7 separate regions of the Homo sapiens genome follow, and regions 1, 2, 3, 4, 5 and 6 are each linked to region 7. Evidence: promoter capture Hi-C in 16 types of primary human blood cells and fetal thymus (Javierre and others, 2016). All regions are on one chromosome and are shown on one strand. Each heading gives the region's core, a stretch centred on a gene start or on the middle of the fragment in contact. The rest is flanking DNA. Distances are from core to core; before and after follow the strand shown.

The links. Contacts are between HindIII fragments. The CHiCAGO score rates a contact against its expected background, and 5 or more counts as called.
Region 1: a fragment that was not itself captured here is called in contact with the fragment with the promoter of FAT4 in region 7 in 4 of 17 cell types (M0 macrophages, M2 macrophages, M1 macrophages and 1 more); the score reaches 20.5 in M0 macrophages.
Region 2: a contact is called between a fragment that was not itself captured here and the fragment with the promoter of FAT4 in region 7, in 1 of 17 cell types (M2 macrophages). The highest score is 8.8, in M2 macrophages.
Region 3: a fragment that was not itself captured here is called in contact with the fragment with the promoter of FAT4 in region 7 in 2 of 17 cell types (M0 macrophages and M2 macrophages); the score reaches 14.6 in M0 macrophages.
Region 4: a contact is called between the fragment with the promoter of HSPA4L here and the fragment with the promoter of FAT4 in region 7, in 1 of 17 cell types (M2 macrophages). The highest score is 5.2, in M2 macrophages.
Region 5: a fragment that was not itself captured here is called in contact with the fragment with the promoter of FAT4 in region 7 in 6 of 17 cell types (M0 macrophages, M2 macrophages, monocytes and 3 more); the score reaches 25.6 in M0 macrophages.
Region 6: a contact is called between a fragment that was not itself captured here and the fragment with the promoter of FAT4 in region 7, in 3 of 17 cell types (M0 macrophages, M2 macrophages and M1 macrophages). The highest score is 9.2, in M0 macrophages.

What each region holds. Positions count from the first base shown.
Region 1 is chr4:127,594,924-127,597,868 of GRCh38, forward strand. No RefSeq gene overlaps it. Among named protein-coding and RNA genes, the nearest start is that of INTU, 37 kb to the right of the region's middle. RefSeq lists an enhancer at 1,883-2,052 and a silencer at 2,851-2,945. The HindIII fragment of the contact is 1,270 bases long and covers 982-2,251 here.
Region 2 is chr4:127,739,825-127,742,925 of GRCh38, forward strand. The region is part of intron 1 of SLC25A31 (solute carrier family 25 member 31); the gene reads left to right. Among named protein-coding and RNA genes, the nearest start is that of SLC25A31, 11 kb to the left of the region's middle. The HindIII fragment of the contact is 3,078 bases long and covers 81-3,101 here.
Region 3 is chr4:127,557,251-127,560,250 of GRCh38, forward strand. No RefSeq gene overlaps it. Among named protein-coding and RNA genes, the nearest start is that of INTU, 74 kb to the right of the region's middle. RefSeq lists an enhancer at 43-212 and a cis regulatory region at 128. The HindIII fragment of the contact is 2,875 bases long and covers 1-2,778 here.
Region 4 is chr4:127,780,888-127,783,758 of GRCh38, forward strand. It overlaps HSPA4L (heat shock protein family A (Hsp70) member 4 like), which reads left to right and starts at 1,435. Exons shown (of 19, transcript NM_014278.4): 1 at 1,435-1,770. The coding sequence starts at 1,664. RefSeq lists silencers at 796-965, 1,246-1,315 and enhancers at 1,456-1,605, 1,505-2,497, 2,106-2,185. The HindIII fragment of the contact is 4,318 bases long and covers 1-1,961 here.
Region 5 is chr4:127,533,576-127,536,528 of GRCh38, forward strand. No RefSeq gene overlaps it. Among named protein-coding and RNA genes, the nearest start is that of INTU, 98 kb to the right of the region's middle. The HindIII fragment of the contact is 293 bases long and covers 1,416-1,708 here.
Region 6 is chr4:127,577,934-127,581,045 of GRCh38, forward strand. No RefSeq gene overlaps it. Among named protein-coding and RNA genes, the nearest start is that of INTU, 53 kb to the right of the region's middle. The HindIII fragment of the contact is 9,345 bases long and covers 1-3,112 here.
Region 7 is chr4:125,313,210-125,316,272 of GRCh38, forward strand. FAT4 (FAT atypical cadherin 4) reads left to right here and starts at 1,746. Exons shown (of 18, transcript NM_001291303.3): 1 at 1,746-2,768. The HindIII fragment of the contact is 5,556 bases long and covers 703-3,063 here.

The DNA.
Region 1 (2,945 bases), core at 367-2,866, 2.3 Mb after region 7:
ATGTACCCTAAAACTTAGAGTATAATAAAAAAAAAAAAACATTTAAAAAAAATAATAATAAATAAATAAAAAAATAAAAGTGCTGAAAAAAAAAGAAAAAAACATATGGAACAAGAATATAAAGAAAGAAAATATTTTCACAGCTGTACAATGCGTTTGTGTTTTAAGCTAAGTGTTATTACAAAAGAGATCATAAATTTAAAAAAATTTTAAAGCATATAAAGTAAAAAAAAAGTTACAGTAAGTGAAGGTTAATTCATTTTGAAGAAAGAAAAATATTTTTTATACATCTAGTGTAGCCAAAGGGTACAGTGTTTATAAAGTCCTCAGCCCTCACATTCACTCACCACTCTCTCACTGTCTCACTCAGAACAACTCCCAGTCCTACAAGCTCCATTCATAGTGAATGCCCTATACAGGTGTACCATTTTTACCTTTTATACCATATTTTTACTGTACCTTTTTTATGTTGACATACACAGTGGTTGTAATTGCCTAAAGTATTCAATACAGGTATGTAGCCAAAGAGCAATAGACTATACCATATAGCCTAGGTATGTTGTAGACTATACCATATAGCCTAGGTATGTTGTAGGCTATACCATCTAGGTTTGTGAACATACACTCCATGATGTTCATGCAATGGTAAACTCACTTAGAGCATTGCTCAGAATGCATTCCCATTGTTAAGCAATACACAACTATATTAAACTAAAATAACATTTAGATAAGAAAAACACAACGTAAGTGTCTTAGTCCATTCATACTGCTATAACAAATACCATCAACTGGATGGCTCATAAACAACAGAGGTTTATTTCTCATAGTTCTGGAGGCTGGGAAGTTCAAGATCATGGTTCCAGCATGGCTGGGTTCTGGTAAGTGCCCTCTTCCAATTTCTCACTGTGTTATATGGTGGAGGGGGCAAGGCAGCTTTCTGGGGTCTCTTTTACAAGGGCACTCGTCCAATCACCTCTAAAAAGCTTCACCTCCTAATACCAGCACTTTGGTAACTAGGTTTCAACATATGAATTCTGAGGAGACACATTCAGAGACCCTAGGAATAGGTCCATAGGAATATTTTATGAGCTATATTTACACTTGAAGGCAATTGTCATAGAACCTGGTATAATAAATAGGTAAAGTACCTTTAAACTCGTATTGTGAACTTTATTAAAGAGATATGATAAAGTCCTGAAGAAGCTATTTAACTGAGATCAGAAAACTTGAGTCTTAATCACTGTTCTGCCACTAACCTGCTGTAAAACCTTGAGCAGTCATTCAACCTCTTTGTCATCTCATAAACTGAGGAAGTTTGGAAAAGGTGATTCTGTGTGATTCTGCCCAGTTTCAAAACACTATATAATCAACACTATACTTACAGTCTGAGGAAATGACTATTGAGAGTTATTGAATTTAAAGGCTTGCCCTTTTTTTTTTTTTTTTGAGACGGAGTTTCGCTCTTGTCACCCAGACTGGATGGGCGTGATCACGCAATGGTGTGATCTCGGCTCACTGCAACCTCCGCCTCTCAGGTTCAAGCGATTCTCTTGCCTCAGCCACCTTAGTAGCTGGGATTACAGGCGCACGCCACCATACCCAGCTAATTTTTGTATTTTTAGTAGAGAAGGGGTTTTGCCATGTTGGCCAGGCTGGTCTCAAACTCCTGAGCTCAGGTGATGTGCCTGCCTCGGCCTCCCAAAGTGCTGGGATTACAGGCATGGGCCACCATGCCTGGCCAAGTCTCGCTTTTTAAAACATATTGTTGGTAATATTATGCCAAAATTGATGATCAGGCACATACCAAGCCCCTGAGAATTATATCATTCCAATACAAAACATAAGCTACTTTATAACAATCTATTTTATAATATGGTTTCCAGAAATGTGTTATGTTGAAAATCAATCTTTAAAATCACCCCACATTATCAGAAAATAATTCAAAAAATATTTTATTTCTGTTTTTTGTGTGTGTGTGTGTTTGTTTTTGTTTTGAGAGAGGGTCTCGCTCTGTCGCCTAGGCCGGAGGCACGATCACGGCTCACTGCAACCTCTGCCTTCCAGGCTGAAGAGATTCTCCCACCTCAATCTCTTGAGTAGCTGGGACTGCAGGTGTACACCACCATGCCCGGCTAATTTTTTTGTTTTGTTTTTTGTTTGTTTGTTTGTTTGTTTGTTTATAGAGACAGGGTTTCACTGCTTTGCCCAGGCCAGCCTGAACAAATATTTGTTGATCACTTACCGTGGGTCAAGCTTTGTTTTAGACATTGCATGAAAAAATAATACTATACACCACCTCTGTGGCCCAGCTACTCGTGAGGCTGAGGTGGGAGGATAACTAGAGCCCAGGAGTTGTGGTACAGCCTGGGCACCATAGCCAGATTGTCTCAAAAAAACAAGACAAAACTTGGATTAAGATACTCTTCTGTCCTCAAGAACAGAATTCAAGAAAAATATAAAATAGCTTTAATATAAGGTAGGTCTTAATATAAGACCTGGTAAAGGCATAAGCTGAGTGCATAATTCAGGGGGGGAAAGGGATGTGACATCCAAATGAGAACAGGGAGGGCGTAACCAAGAACTTGGCATCTAGATGTATCTGGAAGATGGCTTGAATTTTTACAGATGAAAATGAAAAAAAGTATTCCTGGTGAATAGAACAGCAAGAGAAAATGTGAAAAGTTGAGAAAATGTAGCACATTTTCAAGAAAAAAAAAGCAAATTGATGAGTTTGACTTGAGTGTAGAGAATAAAATAAGTCATGAGAGGTTATACAGAGACAGCCAATTATAGAGGGTCCTAAATACCAGGCTGAAGGATACATACTCAGTTTGAAATATGCAAGTGGGTCTCTGAAGATGTTGATCAGGGGATTACAAGACAGAATGTTTTGAGGGAAAAAAGGAGAAAGCTAAAGAAACTGTGTGTAGCAAGGCCTCTTGACA
Region 2 (3,101 bases), core at 370-2,869, 2.4 Mb after region 7:
TTCAAGCTCTGCATTTCTTTCTTCTGCTTGGTCCAGTCAATTGATAATTTTTTTAATTGTATTTTGAAATTTCTTAAGTAAGCTTTTCAATTCCATAAGATCTCATTGATTTCTTTTGAAGATGTTTATCTCTTCTTTCATTTCCCAGATTACTCTAGAAGTTTGTGTCTATTTTCAACCTTCTTTTAGATCTTATTGAGCTTCCTTGCAATTCATGCTTTGAATTCTTAGTCATTTCTGAGTTTCCATTTTGGCTAGGAACCATTGCTTGACCGCTAGTGTGATCCTTTGGTGTTGTTATTACATTCACATTTTTTGTGGTGCCTGATTTCTTGCCCTATTCCTTCTCAACTGGAGACACTAGTGCTTCCAATTTTTGTAGTCATTTTAATGCAGGTAGGATTTTTTTTCTTTTTCTATGTAACATTATTGGGGTTTTTTCTTTTCTCTTTCCCCCTCCTCCCTTGGGGGTGTAACTGTAGACAGTGTTGGGTAGGGGCTTTTGACTTTGCTCTATAACCCTTGGGGGTGTAACTGTAGACAATGTTGGACAGGGGCTTTTGACTTTGCTTCTATAGCCCTATGCATGTATGTCAGCAGGTTTTATATTGGGCTATGGGATCCAACCTACAGGCCAGTAGATAGCATGTACAGCTGAGTCAACTGAGGCAAACACAGCTACATATGTACTTGACCCCTATTTACTGGGAGAAAGGATGCGCCAGGCTGATGATTCAGGAGAGCAGATGGTCAGAATGCCTGGAAATCTGCCTGGTTGTGGAGCAGAGACAGCCCCACTTCACCACAATGTCTGCACAGGAAGGATGGGGCAGCTCAGGCTGCTGATCATGGCAAGTAGGTACTCTGCCTGCCTGAGTGTGAAGCTGAGAAGGCCTCCTCCACACAGATCTCTGCAAAGGAAGGGTGGGGTGACTCAGGCTGCCAATGCAGGTGAGCAGGTTCTTTGAATGCCTGGAGATCTGCCTGTGTATAAAGCAGAGAGGGCCCCACTGCACCACAATCTCTGCACAGAAAGGGTAGGGTGGCTCAGGCTGCTCATCTAGGTGAGTGGGTGCTCCAAATGCCTGGATATCTCTTCAGTTTCTTTCATCAGTTTTTTAAACTTTTTGGCGTACAGATCTTTCACCTCTTTGGTTAAATTTATTCCTAATGTTTCGTGTATGCTATTGTGAATGATACTGTTTTATTACTTTTTCAGGTAGTTCATTGTTAGTATATAGAAATGTGATTGATTTTTCTGTGTTGATTTTATATCCTAAAACTTTACTGAATTATTAGTCTAATAGTTTGTTGGCATATTTAGGGTTTTCTGTATGTAAGATCATGTCATCTGCAAACAGAGACAGTTTAACTTCTTTTTAATTTGGATACTTTTCTTTTTCCTAATCACTCTGGCTAGAACTTAAGGTACTATATTGAATAAAAGTGCAAGAGTGGATCCCTTTGTCTTATTCCTGATCTCAGAGGAAAGTTTTCAACTTTTCTCCACTGAGTATGTTATCTGTGAGCTTGTCACATATGGCCTTTATTATGTTGTAGTACATTGCTTCTATACCTAATTTGTTGAGAGTTTTTATTACATAAAGATAAATTCTGTCAAATGCTTCTTCAGCATTTTTTGAGATGCTCATATGATTTTTGTCCTTCATTCTGTTAATGCGGTATATGACATTTACCCATTTGTGCATGTTGAGCCATCCTTGCATCCCAGGCATAAATCCCACTTGATTGTGGTGAATGATCCTTTTATCATTATATTGAATTCAATTTGGTAGTATTTTGCTGAGGATTTTTGCATGTTTGTTCATTGGAATATTGGCCTGCAATTTTCTTTTCTTGTAGTATTTTGGTTGGCTTTGGTACCGGGGTAATGTTGGCCTTGTAAAATGAATTTAGTAGAATTCAGCTGTGAAATCATCAGATCCTGGGCTTTTCTTTATTGTTAAGTTTCTGATTACTGATTCAATCATTGTTGGTCTGTTCAGAAATTTATTCATGATTCAGACTTGGTAGATTATATGTTTCTAGAAATTTATCAATTTCATATATGTTATTTAATTTCTTGGTATATAATTGTTCATAGTAATCTCTTACAACTCTTTGTATTACTGTATGTTAGTGGTAATGTCTTTTCTTTCACTTATAATTTTACTTACTTGACTCTCCTCTCTTTTTTTCTTAAGTCTAGCTAGAGGTTTGTCAATTTTGTTTATCTTCTTCTAATAAAATACCAACCAGCACTGGATCTCAAAAAAATAAACTCTTAGTTTGACTGATATTTTTCTATTATTTTTGTAGTCTCTATTTCATTTATTTCTGCCATTGAAACCAGCTCAATTGGCCCATGGAACTGATGTTTATTGTTTCTCATCAATAAACCAAGAAATTGACCTCTCAGTCTTAAAACTTGAGAAACTCGTATTTGTCATATCTGAGTTCCTTTCTCAGGAAACCAACCTTTGGGCCTCCCAGATAGTATCGAGGAACTGAAACTTACCAGATCACCACATCTGGACATTGAGACACTAACCCTTCGCCTGTCATGACTGCCTGATTGATTACCTGTTGACCAAGTCCTTCTTCTTATTCCTCCCTAATTCTTGCTTTCCCACACATAGTTACATTTCTTTTCTGCTATATAAACTCCTAATTTTAGTGCATGAAAGAGATGGATTTGAGATTGATCTGTTCTCCTCAGACACAGCACCCAAAACAGCCTTCTTCCCTGGCAGTACTCATCGTCTCTGTGATTGGTTTTCTGTGCAATAAGCAGCAGAACCTAGACTAAACCCTTGGCATTTTGGTAACACTAATTTTTATTATCTCTCTCCTTCTTCTAACTTTGGACTTAGTTTGTTCTTTCTCTAGCTCCTTGTGGTATCAAATTAGGTTATTTGAGATCTTTCTTCTTTATACATATGCATTTATTGCTATAAACTTCTCTCTTAACTGCTTTTGATGCATCTGTGAGTGTTGGTATGTTGTGTTTCCATTTTATCCCAAGATTTAATTTTCCTCTTCATTTCTTCTTTGACCCATTGGTTGTTAAGAGCATGTTGTTTAATTTCCATGTATTTGTG
Region 3 (3,000 bases), core at 91-2,590, 2.2 Mb after region 7:
GTGCACTGGCCAGGTAGATCCTTTTCTTACATCTAACAAAGAATAAAGTAAGGATGAAACTCCATGAAGTTATAAAAAACTGTATCTGAGATCTCGGCATTCCCCCCTACACACCCAAGCTCTATCAGTACAGCCCAGAGTCCTTTTCTTGTATGGACTATGCCCTTTCTTAATTATTGTTTCTTAGCTCCCAAACTACTCCCTCTTTACTCTGATTTGTGATGCTGGGGCTGGAACTCTGCAAACCACAGTCTGCTTTGCCAGTCGACTACTGTCAGGCTTTTCTAACAGGGGGGCAGACTGTAAGGCTGCAGTAGGGAAAAGAGACATGATCCTTCCTGTCCACTTCCTGTTAGTTCTATTGGCTGTCTTCCTACTTCCTAGTTCAGCAACAGCAGCAGTACCTTCCCACAGCAGTGGTTGAATCCAGTTTGTGGTTCTTCCAACACTTTCAGAACCAGCCTCAAGCATCCTTCAATGGATAATACTCCATTATATGTATGTACCCCAATTTTTTCCCATTCATCCATTAATGGATATTTGGGCTGTTTCCACCTGTTGGCTATTACAAATAGTGTTGCTAGAAAGTGAAAGAAGCTGACACAAAAGGCCACATATTGTATGATTCCATTTATATGAAATATCCAGAACAGGCAAAACCATAGACACAGAATGCTGACTGGTGCCTTCCAGGGGCTAAAGAGAGGAATGAATGTGGAGCAACTGCTTAATAAGTGCGGGGTTTTCTTTTGGGGTGATGAAAATATTTTGAAACTAGAAAAAAGTGGTAGTTGCACAACATTTGTAAATATAGTAAATGCCACTGAGTTATTGATTCTAGAATGATTAGTTTTATATTATGTCAGTTTTGCCTCAACAAAAATAAATAAGTAACTGGGTGGTTTCTCCTGACTGGGCCCGGACTGATACACGGACCTTCATTACACCCACAGCAGCCTTCAAGTTTGCCTTTGCCACCTGAGCTGCATGGCCTCTCGCCAGCTTTGTTCTTGTCTGTTCCTCCAGTTTTTACTGTTTGGGAAGTGGGTAATTATCAACAGAAAGTATTGTCTTGACTTGTGCTGCCTAAGATACTAGTCACCAGCCACATGTGGCTATTTAAATTTAAGTTTAATTAAATAAAAAATTCAGTTCCACAGTTGCACTAACCACATTTCAAGTGCTCATTACCCACATGTGGCCATGATGGCATGGCAGGCTGTCAGGATCGGCTGCTGCCATCATGCCAGCTGCAGTGGGGAGGTGTGAGCAGTGGTGGCAGGAGCAGTTGTGGGATCAGCAATGGCGGTGTAGATTCCCTGTGCCTCACATGCCCAAAGCAGCTGGCTGTGCCACTCCTACCCTCATGTGGCAGGGCAGGACCTATCCCCAGGCCCAGAGCCTCCTTCACTCTGGACTCTCATCACTCTTGCCTACAGCCACTGTGGGGAGGGTGCTGGGATGAGGTGGAGCTGGGCCTGGGGTGGTGCTGCACTCCATGGAGCCAGCAGGAGCCAGGGACAAGCAGGAGTCTCCTTGGAGCCCACCACCCTGGTAGCTGCCACAATGGGGCTGGGCAGAGTTGCCTGCCAGCAGGGGAGCAGCATAAGTTTGGCAAAGAGGGGTGGGCAGAGAGGGGCCCAGCGAGGACCTGGAGACCCCACCCCAGGTTGTGAGGAAGTGCAGCTGGGGATCCCTGCATGCTCCATAGAGCAGGTGAAAGAGCCCTGCCCTCCCAGGTGCAGTATGTGGGCATCTCTGTACTCTGCAACCTGGGGGGCCTGGGAAGGCCCCTACTGCCCCTGCAGGCTTGGGGGTGTCTGCTCCCTCCACCTGGCCTCTCTCTGCTCCTGGCACACTCTCCAATTTTGAAGTGGGGTTGGGGCCGAGTTCAGGCACTGTCACAGCCTATCCAGGTGTGCACACACTCAGGGCAGCACACTTGAAACCTGCCAGTTCCCTGCTGCCTCAGCCCACTCCTGACTTTGGGCAACAATGAGCATAGGGTCGGGGGAAAGCCAAGGGGAGACACTGAGGGCAGCTCAGTGCTGGCCTGCAGGTGCCCATTGGCATAAGCAGCCTGGGCACCATGGATGGTGGCAGGAGGCAGATAGGCACCCAGGTGGAAGGGGGCAGTCCCAGTGAAGCCCTACCTTCAAGCCAGGGAGGGCCTGAAGGCTGGGGGCTTGGCACCCAGTCCCACAGACTGGAGTGGGAACTTGTGATGCCTTTTTCAGGCCCACCCATAGCAGCCCATAGACCAATCAGCATGCATTTCTTTCCCTCTGAGGCACATAAAAGCCCCATGCTCAGGCAGAGCTGGACGGACAATGGGGTGACCAGCTGCAGAGAGGAGCCACCCTCTCTGCTGGAAGCTAAACACTTGTTGGGACAACCTGCCTGCAGAGAGGAGCTACCCTCTCAGCTGGGAGTTGAACATTCAACAGGACACCCTGGCTGCAGAAAGCAGCTGCCCCCTGTGAGTCTCCTCTAAGCTGTTATATCACTCAATAAATCTCCTCTTCATCTTGTTCACCCTTTACTTGTCTGCATACCTCATTCTTCCCAGTTGCAAGACAAGAACTCAGGACCTGCCAAATGGCAAGTCTAAAAGACAACCTGCAACACAAACAGGGCTGAAACACGCCCCTTGCTTGCCACATGTGGGCCAAAAGAACAAGAGGTGAGCTGCAGCCCTTTAGGAAGCCCAGACCTGGGAGCTCCCCAAGCCAGGGCTGTGACTCCCTCTTTGGGGCCCTGCAGTTTCTGGCATCTCCAAGCTTCTGGGCACCACTGTGTTCTCCAGTGCCAGCCATGGAAGCTGCCTGCAGTGCACCTGGTCTGGCCACAGACTCTCTGAAAGCCGGTGCCCATGCCAGCACCTGGAGCTGCCCACCCCACTGCAGCAGCCCGCATGACTGTGCAGTGGCTAAATCCCACACTGGTTCACACACCGCTCACCACTCCACGCCTGACTCGCCCTTGGCAGGTGGTAGGATC
Region 4 (2,871 bases), core at 185-2,684, 2.5 Mb after region 7:
AGGCCTGATTGATTTCTTCAATGTAGAGACCAGAGCCCAAGCAATACTGTACAATCCAGTTGCCTCAGTATTGCCCTTGAAAATGGATTTCACGTTCATTCTAACAGCAGCAGGAACTATAGCCACCCTTGCTGCTGCTGCTGCTGTAGCAACATTATTAATAGTAAAAAATCTAAGTTATTTAAAGAAGTGGACAACTAGGGATAATCAGAATACTAAAGAATCTAGTAAACAAAACAAACAAACAAAAAAACACGCCTGTTTTCAAGATGGATACCAAAATGGAACAGGAAAACACACAAAGAATTGGATGAGAAGGAACAGAGACTAGATGAAGAGGACGGGGAGGAACAGGGAACAGACCAAGGACTGGCAGAGAAGGAACAGGGCACACACGTAAAAGTGAACGAAAAGCAACAAGACAGCCAAATTTCTTAAGTGTAACATAAAACTTGGTTAATTACAGACAGGCAACACATGCCGATCAAACCAAGAGGGAGGGCGCTGGACCACACTGGGCTCTTTTTTGAGGACCACAGGGCAGCGGCTGGAGGCTAAAGCACAGACTTGGCTGGTGTGAGTGGCACACTTAATTAAGGTCACTTTCCTGTAAAACTGGTTTCCAGAGACAAGGGTCAGCGGCGGGGCCAGCATCTTTTAGAAAGGTGTGAGGAAAGGTACGTGGAGGGAAAGTTGTCAGTGTGATCTTATTTCTTGACAGAAGTTTGACTTTTGATATTTCAAATCCTGCTGATGAAAAAAGAAAAAAACCTAACATGTGCTCATCCCGCTTTCGCACAAGAGTCTGTCCCGGGCTCGGCAGCTCCCCCGGGGCTGGACAGGGCGGAGCGGCGGACGTCGGACAATGCGCGCCACCTCACAGAGCCGGGCGCGGCGGGCCTCCAGCCACAAGGGGAGGGCGCCGGGCTGCACATGGGCCCCTCGGGGAGGCGAGGCCTGCGGGCGAGCCCTTCTGAGGGCAGGGGGTGAGGGGGCGGCGCCCGCCAGCCAGGACAGCATCCTGCCGCCGTGACAAGCACGCCTCCGGTTGCCAAAACAACCCAAAAATGTGCCTCAAAACACGTTCGCAAAGCCCCGGGCCGGCCGGTCGCCTGCCTCTCACCTAGCCCGACCGCCCGACGTCCTACTGCCGAGCGAGGGCGAGCAAGCCAATGTGCCTAGCCTCCTTTCCCCGATCCTCCCCGCCCCGCCTTCCCGCTTCTCCCGCCCCCGGATAGCTCAGCAGCCTCCATTTTCCAGATCTTTCTCGAACCCGCAGCTTCTTGGGCAGCCGTTGCCCGAGTGCTGACGGAAGCGGCCGAAGTCCGGGCCCGGAGCTGGCTCGGGCGCGGAGCGGAGGCTCGCGCGCCTCCCGGGCAGCCGAGCGCGCAGGCGCAGGTCCCAGTAACCGCCGGTTGGAGGCGGCCGAACCGCAGTAGGGAAAGACCCAGGCTGCGGGACGCGGTGCAGGCTGCGGCGCTGACGGCCTCTGCTCCTTCCGCGGGTTTCCGACTCCCTGCCCTAGATTTTCTGCTTAGCGACTTGGGGTCCCCTCTCGTTTGCTTCTGGTAGGAGTCGCAATCCCAGCAGCAATAGCCCAGAAGAGGACACGGTTCCCGTACCGAAGGGTTCAGTACCAGCAGCCCGACCATCACGCGGCGGGATGTCTGTGGTTGGCATTGACCTCGGCTTTCTCAACTGCTACATTGCTGTCGCGAGAAGTGGCGGCATCGAGACCATCGCCAATGAGTACAGCGACAGGTGTACCCCGTAAGTGCCTCTGCTGAGCATCACCTCGACCCTAAGAAACGTTTTTCTCTCCCGTCCTTAACGTTTGTCCTGTCTGCTCGCTTCCTCGGATTTTCCCCTAACGTGCGCCGAACCCCGAGATGACAGGTGCAACCCGTCAACCGCAGTCCCTAGAGACCGCCGGGTGGCAGTCGGACTTCCTCGCCCCGCAAAGCTTCTTTTCCTTCAAGGACGAGGGACCGCACTAGTTTGCGCAGCTCTCTTTTCTGTACCTACGCACGTCCCCTGCCTCGTGCCGCTGTCCCCCAACGCCTCTTTTGCTTGCGAGGAAGAGGTTGCTGTGGGACAGCCCCTGGCGTCCGGAATATTGAGAAAGATCTCCGGTTGCCTCTAACGAGGTTTACGTGGGATTATCGGCCCCGCGCCAGCTGCCCTCCTTCCTTTCCCCGTCCCTCTGGGTGACAGCTTTTTCTCAGAAAAGTAAAAAGTCAGCTTCGGCTGCACACGTCAGAGATGAATTGCAGGTTCATCTGGCCCCGAAAGCCTTTTTTTTTTTTTTAAGGGCGGGGAGTGAGGCATGTGGGGTTTTACAAAACCCAGTGCCCTTGAGAACTGCAGGTAATGGAGCCGGTTTACAGGGCCAGGTCAATGGTGCATTGATAGGGAGAGCCTCGGGATGGGAGTCACTGGCCTTGTGCATTGGTAACTACGTCAGTTGCTGGAATGCGGCGGGGTTGGGTCGGACCAAAAGCGTGTTTCTGCAGAGTGAATTGCCGGAGTCGGGGGCAGCTGTCCCGTATAAACATGACTGTGGAGTGATTCTATTATGAACGCTTAATGAAAGGCTTAGGAGGAGCGGCGTTATGTCATGGAAACATGTTTCCACATGTTCCGTTGTTTCTCTGGCCTGGGAAGTTTGTTGGCAAGGAATATAATGAAGTAATTCTGAAATATGAAAAACTAGTTGCTGCTTATAGGCTGCTGTTACTGGTAATTTTATGAGGAAACCAACTGTATGAAACCTATATTACTTTTTATGGAAAGGTAATTTGGCATCTTAATTTGACCGTTCTGAATGGTCCAAAATATAATACCTTAACTATACTAAAACAAGGTCAGTGT
Region 5 (2,953 bases), core at 312-2,811, 2.2 Mb after region 7:
ATGGAACCAAGCAAATAAAATCTCTGTTTCACAGCAGCTGAGTTGTTATCTCCCTGCACCTTCTGGGTTCAAATAGTCATTCAGCCTTGGCATCTACTCTCAGGCCCTAGGCTCCATGTCCCCAATATTCAATGAGGAGGAGGTTAACTTCTATGGGTCACAATGCCTGTCCTCTTTCATTTCTTCTCAAAATGTCTTTTCTCCTTTTTTCTTTCCTTCTCATAAAGATAAATGTAGTCACTCATATCACTGTTCTCAGCAAGTAATAAATTTAGAGATCATCTCTATAGAACATTGCTATAAAACAACTTCATTAAGTCCATAGTATATAATTTAGGACTAAAGGATTTAGAGTTCTACAAATTCTAGTCAAAATTTATTATATATTAGAAAGAATTAATATTAACTTTGTTTAGAGAAATTTATAACAACATTACAAAACCCTCTGAAAACGCTTAAGGTGAACTCTCTTTCCTCTTCTCCCACTGGGTGGTTGTAAAATTAATATCATGCAAAAAATACTACACGCTTTATAAGCAAACATTTGTTTTTTGTTTTTTGGGTTTTTTTTGCTTTATTTTTTATGTAAATTTACACTTCTAAAACAAAAAGCATTCAGAGAGTAGTATCACTAATTGCTTGTCACATGTGGATATTTGTTGTGACACGTGTGGAATTCCATCTTAATAGTTACTGAGAGTGGAATTAGCACAAGGATTTATGAGTTGGATTATAGAAATTGTACATATACAAGGGGACAAGGAGAAAAAAAATAGGAGACAGAAGGAGAGGTGGGAAAAGAAAAGAGGAAACAACAGAAGCCATGAAGAAGAGATATAGAGAACATTAGCATGCCATAAAAAAGATCCAAAAATAATGGAATCATCATGCCTTGAATAATCAACTAATAATATTTGTTGGATCAGGCAGTTTTAAGATGTTCTGTTTGTATATCTAGGGATATACACAAGAAGAAAATATAATTATAAGACTGTCAGGTCAGAGCTTTAAGAAATCTTCATATTAAACCAAAATTTCTTTGGTCTGAGTCCCAGGGTTTGGTCTGAGAATCCAAGAATAAATGTAATAAAGGGAATTTCAGAATCCACAGTCAATGTGGCGCTGTCTTTTATATTTATCTTCGTGTATAGTTAACAGTATTATTCCAAAGAGTGGAAATCATGCTTTTTTAGACAAAATAAAAATCTGTGTGGTTTGCTGACATGGTAATGTGATTATAGTTCCTGAAGAATGAAAATTACACAAGGTCAGTACCATCCTTTGACAGAAATTGTATCCTAACTTTTCTCAGAAGAAACTAGAAGTAGAGACAGATTCTTTAATATTTTCCTTTCTTTTTTCAATCATGCATAGATCTGTCATTTTTCACAAGCCTCATGTGTCATTTTGATGTAAGCTTGCTAGCGAGGGCTGCCATACCTAAGTACTACAAACTGGGTGGCTTAAGCAACAGAAATTTATTTCCTCACAGTTCTGGAGACTACAAGTCTAAGACAGAGGTGTTGACAGGGTTCCTTCTGAAGGCTCTTCCTCTTGGCTTGTAAATGACTATCTTCTTCCCATGTCTTTACATGGTCTTCTTCTATGTATATCTGTGTCTTAATCTCCTCTTCTTATAAGGACACCAGTTATGTGAGATTAGAGTCCATTCTGATGACCTTACTTTGCCTTAATTCTCTCTTTGAAAAGCTTGTCTCCAAATATAGTCACATTTTGAAGTACTAGGGGTTAGGATTTCCACGTATAAATTTGAGGGGAACATAGTTCAGCTCATAACAATGATCCTTGGAAAAACTTTGCTCCAATCAATGAAATTATCTGTGGATAGAAACCATCTTGAGTGACTGTTGTTGCCATCTTTAATGCAACTTTCTGCACTAAAAAGACAAAATCCACTGTAGGAGAGGAGAAAACAATTTCTCCTTTACTCTTCAGAGTCCTTAGCTGGACCTCCTGCAACAAAAGACAGATTAACAAGAGAAAAACAAACAAGTTCACTAACATGTATATTTCATATATACATGAGAGAGAACTAAAGGAAAGAGTAACTCTCAAAAAGATGGCTTAGAACTTCAGCTTATATAGCATCTTCAACAAAGTACAATACAATTTCAGAGAAGTGACAAGAAAAAGGAAAAGGACTTTGAGTGTCTAGATGTGGCATATTGTGGAAAAGCAATTATATGGGAAACCAATAGTAGGTAGAACAGTTGGTAAAGTTTGCTGTATAGATTTCTCTTGTGCCATCTCCAGGCTGATAAGGGTCTAAAGTCATCTCCACTGATCAAACTTTGTCATTCCTGGTAGAGAGGTAAAGAGGTACATCTTTGTATATTTATTTCCTGATTTTAGGCAAATAGGGAGAGGGCAGACAGCTTTTCTTGTTTGTGCTTCTTCTCAATTCCCTTCAGCTCAAGATAATCCTTATGCCAAAGTCGAATTCTGGGGGTAGCATATTCTCCTGCCCTTCACCACCAAGGTTTTCACAAGGAAAATCTCTGAAAGAAACAAAATAGGCAAATTAACAAGCAAACCCTAATTTGTTCTCCTCAAGTTTTATCTTCTACTTATGACTTTCTCACATTAATTCAGATGCTTCTATCATGGCATACACTAAGTAGACATTTGTACCCCTATTTTATTTCTGTGTGTTTGTTTCTTTAAAGCTTTCTTAATTTACTGCCTTTAATAAAAAAAATTGTTAAACATTGAATAATGTATAGATCATAGCTATAAACTCAGGATAGTTCTTAAAAAGCCTAGCCAACGGATTATCAAAACCAGTTGTTATGACTTGAACAGTTGTCCCCTCCAAACCTCATGTTGAAATATAATCCCTAATGTGGCAATGTTGAGGGGTGGGGCCTTTAAGAGGTAACTGGTTCATCAGGGCTTGGTCATCATGAATAGAATAATCCATTCATGGATTAAT
Region 6 (3,112 bases), core at 14-2,513, 2.3 Mb after region 7:
AACATGGCACCGGCATCCATTTAGTCTCTGGTGAGGACTCAAGAACCTTACAATCATGGTGGAAGGCAAAGGGGGAGCTGATGTATCACATGGCAATGGTAGGAGCAAGAGAAGGATGTCAGGCTCCTTTAAATAACCGGTACTTATGTGAGCTAACAGCAAGAATTCACTCATTACCCTGGGGAGGTCACCAAGTCATTCATGAGGGATCCACCCCCATGACAACACTTGCTTAAACTATTAGAGCAAAATAAACTCAATTTGAGATTTGGAGGGGACAAATATCCAAATCATATCACCCATGTATTACATGCATGTCTGTTCTTGTCCATGGCCCTCACTATAAATTATGTTCCATGATGAGAAAGATGTTGTTGCTATTACTACCTGGATCCCCAGAGTCTAGATGTATGCCTGGCACACAGTAGAAGCTCAGTAAATATTTGTCATTTGAATGAATGAATGAAAGAGTGAAATATTCATGAAGAGTGGATCAAGGAATAAAAGGAAATCTATTAATCCCTTTCTAAGAAATGTGTCTAATAAACACATTAATTAGGAGCCTTAGCTACTTCAACTGATGGTAACATTTTAAATTCAGGCATGTGTTTGACTGATCCTGGAAAGTGAAGGAGGACAGAAGATATTAGGCTGGGCCAGAAATCTACCCAGCCAGCTTTGTAAAGACTCTCAACTCTAAAGATTCTGTGTCCAGCTATGTAGCTAAAAAGAGAAAAATGTGAGCTGTGAGTCTTTAAGAAGAAATAGAATCCTGTCTCCTCTCAGCCTGCCTGGAGGGAGTCCTGCTGGCTTCTTCCCTTAGAAGGACAGCTTGCTCCCCTTTGAATGGAAAACGGGGGGGCGGGGGGGGGGGGAATGGGTTTTGACGTTTCTTCTCAGTCTTCTTCACCTTGAGCTAAATGAAGATAGTGACTAACCCATAACATAGGAATACAACCATTTTTGTCTTCATACATGACGAAAATGTCTTTTCTTCCTAAATTTTTAGGTTGACAAAGAAGTATTAAGTTTATATTGCTGTAATAGTTCAGGCAAGTGTTATAAATTTAATTTCAATTCCAAGGAAAATTTGGAGAGAGAACTCTTTTCAGATATGCCTCTCAAATTGAAAAACTACCTTATTATATACCCTACTAGCATGAAGAAAGGTCAGCATCTGGCAGAAAGACTCCTTTTCCAAGAATTCCGGGAGGGTGGGCAAGATGGCCGACTAGATGCAGGCGGGAAGTGCTGCTCCTACGGAGAGACAACGGTATTTCAACCAAATCAACATAATTTGAACAGATCTTTGGAGAGAAAATGCCAAATGTGGACGAAGAAAAGATACAGATGCTGAAGCTGAAGAAGGAGGAAGCTGGGAACCGCATGTGGAGTGCCTGAATGCTAGGGTTGGGTTTGACTCCTGGGAAATGAGTCAGTGAAGGAACTGAGGGAATGCCTACTCTCACCATGGACCTCTGGCATCCTAGCTGCAGGGGACCCCACAGTCCTCACAGATGTTTGAGCTGGTATAGGGGGATCTTCCTGGAGATTAAATGAAGACAGACATATAGCAGGCATGGAGCCAGGGACCTTTGTGCACAGGACAGCTCCAGCAGAGCCAGGCCGTAAGTGTCCATCCCCGGGGCTCTCCGTCTCCCTCTGAGAAGTTCTGGCCCCAGCTAACCACCATGGAGAAAGCAGTGCTGGCTTCCCTGTTGGACTAGGGCATGTGTGCCCTGCAAGCCCACCTGCCCGCCAGCCCCTCCCAGGGCTCCTGCTTGGCTGCCCCAAAAGAGTGTGTACGCAGTGCAGCCTCTGCTGCCCAGCATGGGTGCTTTGCTCCAGCTGAGTGCATTCTGGCAGCTTGGGAGCCCTTTGGATTCCCCAGCACACCTGGAACTCAACTCCCTAGGTCTGAAGGAGGGGACCAAGAGTAGGTCCTATTCCCCCAGGTCTACCACCCTTGGTTTGGCAGTGTCAAGCCGAGATCTATGCCCAGCGCTGGAAGTTGGAGAGGAGGAGGCCACACTCTCAGAAAACTGAGAGAGCTGAGTCACACAGGTTTGCGGGCTGGTTTGGGACCTAGGCGTGCCTCCCTCCACAGGCTGGTCTTGTAAGGGCGTGGCCTATCTCTCGGCCAGACCTCTGCCCAAGGGAGTCCCGCAGGCCCCAAAGAGCAAATAAAAACAGTTGCAGCGGGCACGGTGGCTCACGCCTGTAATTCCAACACTTCGAGGCTAAGGCGGGCAGATCACCTGAGGTCAGGAGTTCAAGACCAGCCTGGCCAACATGGCGAAACCCCGTCTCTACTAAAAATACAAAATAGTAGCCAGGTGTGGTGGTGCAGGCCTGTAATCCTAGCTACTCGGGAGGCTGAGGCACAAGAATCGCTTGAACTCAGGAGGCTGAGGTTGCAGTGAGCAGAGATTGCACCGAGCAGAGATTGCACCATTGCACTCCAGCCTGGGCAACAGAGCAAGACTCCTTCTCAAAAATGAAACAAAACAAAACAGTTGCAATAGTTTTGTGTTTAAAAATGTGTGGCAACTTCTCCCTACTCTCTCTCTTGCTCCCACTCTTGCCATGTGATAGATACATCAACTTCCCCTTTGCCTTTTGCCATGCTTGTAACTTCGCTAATGCCTCTCCAGGAGCCAAGCAGATCCTGGCACTATGCTTCCTGTACAGCCTGTGGAACTGTAAGCCTGTTAAACCTCTTTTCTTTATAACTTACCCAGGCTTAGGTGTTCTTAATAGCAGTGCAAGAATGACCTAACACAAATTCTTTTTCTGGTGTTTAATATATTTTCTTATTGCTGGAGTCTGTTATTGCAGAATTATTGTGTTCCTATGAAGGTGACATGTTTCTTCCTTTTTCATGTTTGATATGTCCTTTTTTTTTTTTTTTTTTTTTTGCATCTGGTGAAGGAGTCACCTCTTCCAATTTTATTTAGCAGGTTTTGTGGAGAAAGACGTATTCCTATAGGTGACTCTTGATGTGTCAGCTGGGTGGAGTGCACTGGCTTTGGTTCTAGGTAGGCAAAGTAATATAGTATCTCTGTGCAGTTTCTTCAGCTATAAACCATACTGGTGATGTTTGCAAGTGTTT
Region 7 (3,063 bases), core at 496-2,995:
AGTCTAATGTTTTCAAGTTTTAAAATACATAAATGGTTAAATTTAACTTTTTTGTCTGTTTCCAGTTAACTCATTACATTACAGTAGAGGAATATGTAGAAGTTAGCTTTTTAACCTAAACAGAGGAATTGGTGATAGCTTTAGAAATCATGTTTCCATAAATCAGTTTTGAGTTACAGGCTGCCTGCATCATCAAGACTTGAATTTGCTGTCTGTCCTACTATTCTTGATTTTTTTTTTTTTACTCTAAATAAGAAAGGCACTAGGAAAGTCTTAGAGATCGTTTTCTTTGCTGCTATCCCTAGGCAAGAAGCAGGAATTAGCCTTGTAATCCGATCCTTTTAGTCTCTGCATTTAATTTTAAGCAAGAAACCAGGAGACTAAAGATGTAAGACTGACGTAGAACAGCAGAGGGCAGTATTTACTCATGACTGAACCCTCTCTGGGCGCAGAAAGTTTTACGTTTGTGAGGGATCCTTGTGGCAGAAATGTATGACATATGCCCTGTATTTGCATTGTTTGGCTTGAATTCTTATTTTCTAGGTTGGTTCCCTTAAAGGGGAAAAATATCGATCTGATTCCTAGTAACGTTTTTCTTCTTTTAAAGAAACGATGCATGCCACCACAAAAATTAACTGCAGTGAATAGTGGGTGAGTTGATCTGAGTGCATTAAGTGGCATGTGGGTATTTTTAAAAACTTAAGCTTAAATATTATTTTATTTATTTCTACTTTCTCGTATCTATTTCTCCCAGACTGAAAAGCAAAATAAAACTTTATTAGGTTTCCTTTGACTAAAAAATGTGGAGGTGGAAATACTCCATCAGGGATCAAAATTCCAAACTAACTTTGCAACAGGAAAAGATCTCCCTCTTTTCAAAGGGCTGCCATTATTATTGTTGTTGAAACCCTAAGGTTTGGGCTACTGGCACCTGGAATCCAGTTGGGAAAGAAAACAAAACAAACACTGAGTTCCCCTGGCCTTTCCTATAGTAGGAAGTCCAAAGTGCCCTTGCTACGGAGGCCTCCTGCCCCCTAGTCACCTGGAAGGTGGGGGAGAGGGGCAAGTGAGTGAAGATTTAGAGTTTAGCTCGCCCTAGACAGCAGGGAGCCCACTGTGTAGAAAGAGGAGCAAAGGGGAGGATTTGATTTGGATTCTGTGGGATCACACTGTATGGCAGCTCTATCCCTTGCATAAAGAGAGAAGGGGCAGGAAATGGTTAAAGCAAATCTGCACTGTGCATTCCCAGACAGGCTTTGCTTAATCCTTCCTCCCCGCTTTAACAGACCCTCACCCCCCGCCTTTCTTTTATTTCTCTCGACCCCCTTACCCCTGAGTTATTACTAGCATAACAACCTAACGGTCTTCCCCCAGACCCTGCCACTAAAGTTATTTATCTGCAAACCTGACCCCACCCCCATCTATTCTGCGGCAGCCTTTTGCTGTTATTGCTCTGACGCCGGCCAAGATTTGGCCGAAAAGGAAAAAAAAAAAAAAAAAAGAAAAGAAAAAAAATCACCCCCCTTTTTAGCGCCTCCGCCTCGCTGTGCTCCCACACCAGACCGCCTACAGCCCTCCGGGAGGCTGAAGTGATTAGCATCCCGAGAAGCCAGTCGGAGGCCGGGCAAGGCGGAGGGCGCTCGCGGTAGGAGTGCCGGTCGGGGCTGCTTCAGCTCCGGCCCAATGGGGCTGGGGCGAGGGAGGGGCAGAAGGTGACAGGACTGGGAGCTAGGGGGAGTCCAGGCGAACTAAAGTGCGGGGATCAATGAGTGTCGAGCAAAGTTTCTGAGTGCTGCTCCAGCTCGCGGTCTTCCCTCCCCCTCTGTTTGTGTTTCGGCGACGCGCTGTGTGTGTGTGTGTGCGTGTGTATGTGTGTGTGTGTGCATGCCTGTGCGGCGGGGAAGGGGCGGGGAGAGTGTGAGGGACCAGGCGGGAGGTGGAGAAGGGCTCGCGGAGCCCTAGCTCCACCGCAGTCCAACCTTCGGCCCCGGCCGGCGAGAGGGAGAGCGCTGACAGGCGCCGTCCGGAGCTGCGGAGGGCGTCACTACAGCCCAGCGCCGACTTCGCCGCCTCCGCTGCCAACTGTGAAGGAGAGAGAGGCATCAACCACCCCCCGCCCCAAACAAAAAGCCTTGTGGATTACAAAGTGAAACTGACACGGGACAATAAAAGCAGAGATAGCGAGGGCAGGGGCGAGGCGCGCTAGAGTGGGCTTCTGACTGGGGCCGCCGGAGAACGACCCCCCCTGGCATGGTGAGGGGAGGGCGACTCGGGGACCGCACGCTGTTTCTGCCCGACCCCTGCGAGGCCGAGAAGAAAGGGGAAACTGCGTTCGATTTGGATGTACAAATAATGGGTCGGCAGGCGCCCCGGCAGAGGTGAAAAATGCCGAGGAGCCCTGGCTGTTGTTTGTGCCGGACCACGGGCTTGAAGCCGCAACAGGGGCGGCGGCGGCGGCGGCTGCAGGAGGGGAAGGGGCAGAGTTGAGCGCTCCCGGGTACGGGAGCCAGAGCGCGAACGCTAGCGCTTGGAACGCAGTTCCCGAACTGCCTGCGCGCAGACGCCGCCGCCTGGGCCTCAGCGGCCACTGCCGGCGCCCTGTTGGAGGGGCGTTGCAGCCTGGTTTTTGAGGAGTGGGGACTCCAGGAATTCCATCGCCTCCAGCTTTTGGGAAAGAAATTCGATTCTCCCGGTTCCCCACCACCCCTTCCCCGGTGCGCAGTTGTGCTTGGACGTTTGTTCCTCCCTCTTCACGTTCTTCGCTGCGGGTAAGTTCTAAAGTTTCTGAAGACCGTTCTTTGCAATGATTCCTCATATACCTTAGATACAGGCAACTTCTCCCAACTCTCATCCACCCGGGTGAAAACGCTCAGACTATCTGGATTCAAAAACAAAGTAAAAGGGGGCATATATAAGAGGCTTGAGAAACTTTTCTGGGAACTCAGCTCACAGGAGTGTCCCGCGGAATGCCCTGCCGCTTTTCGCCACAGCATCTCTCTTGCACTCCGCGTTCAACTGGCTACCTAGAGTCTTTTGCTGATGCTACTTGCTTTTGCCGGACTG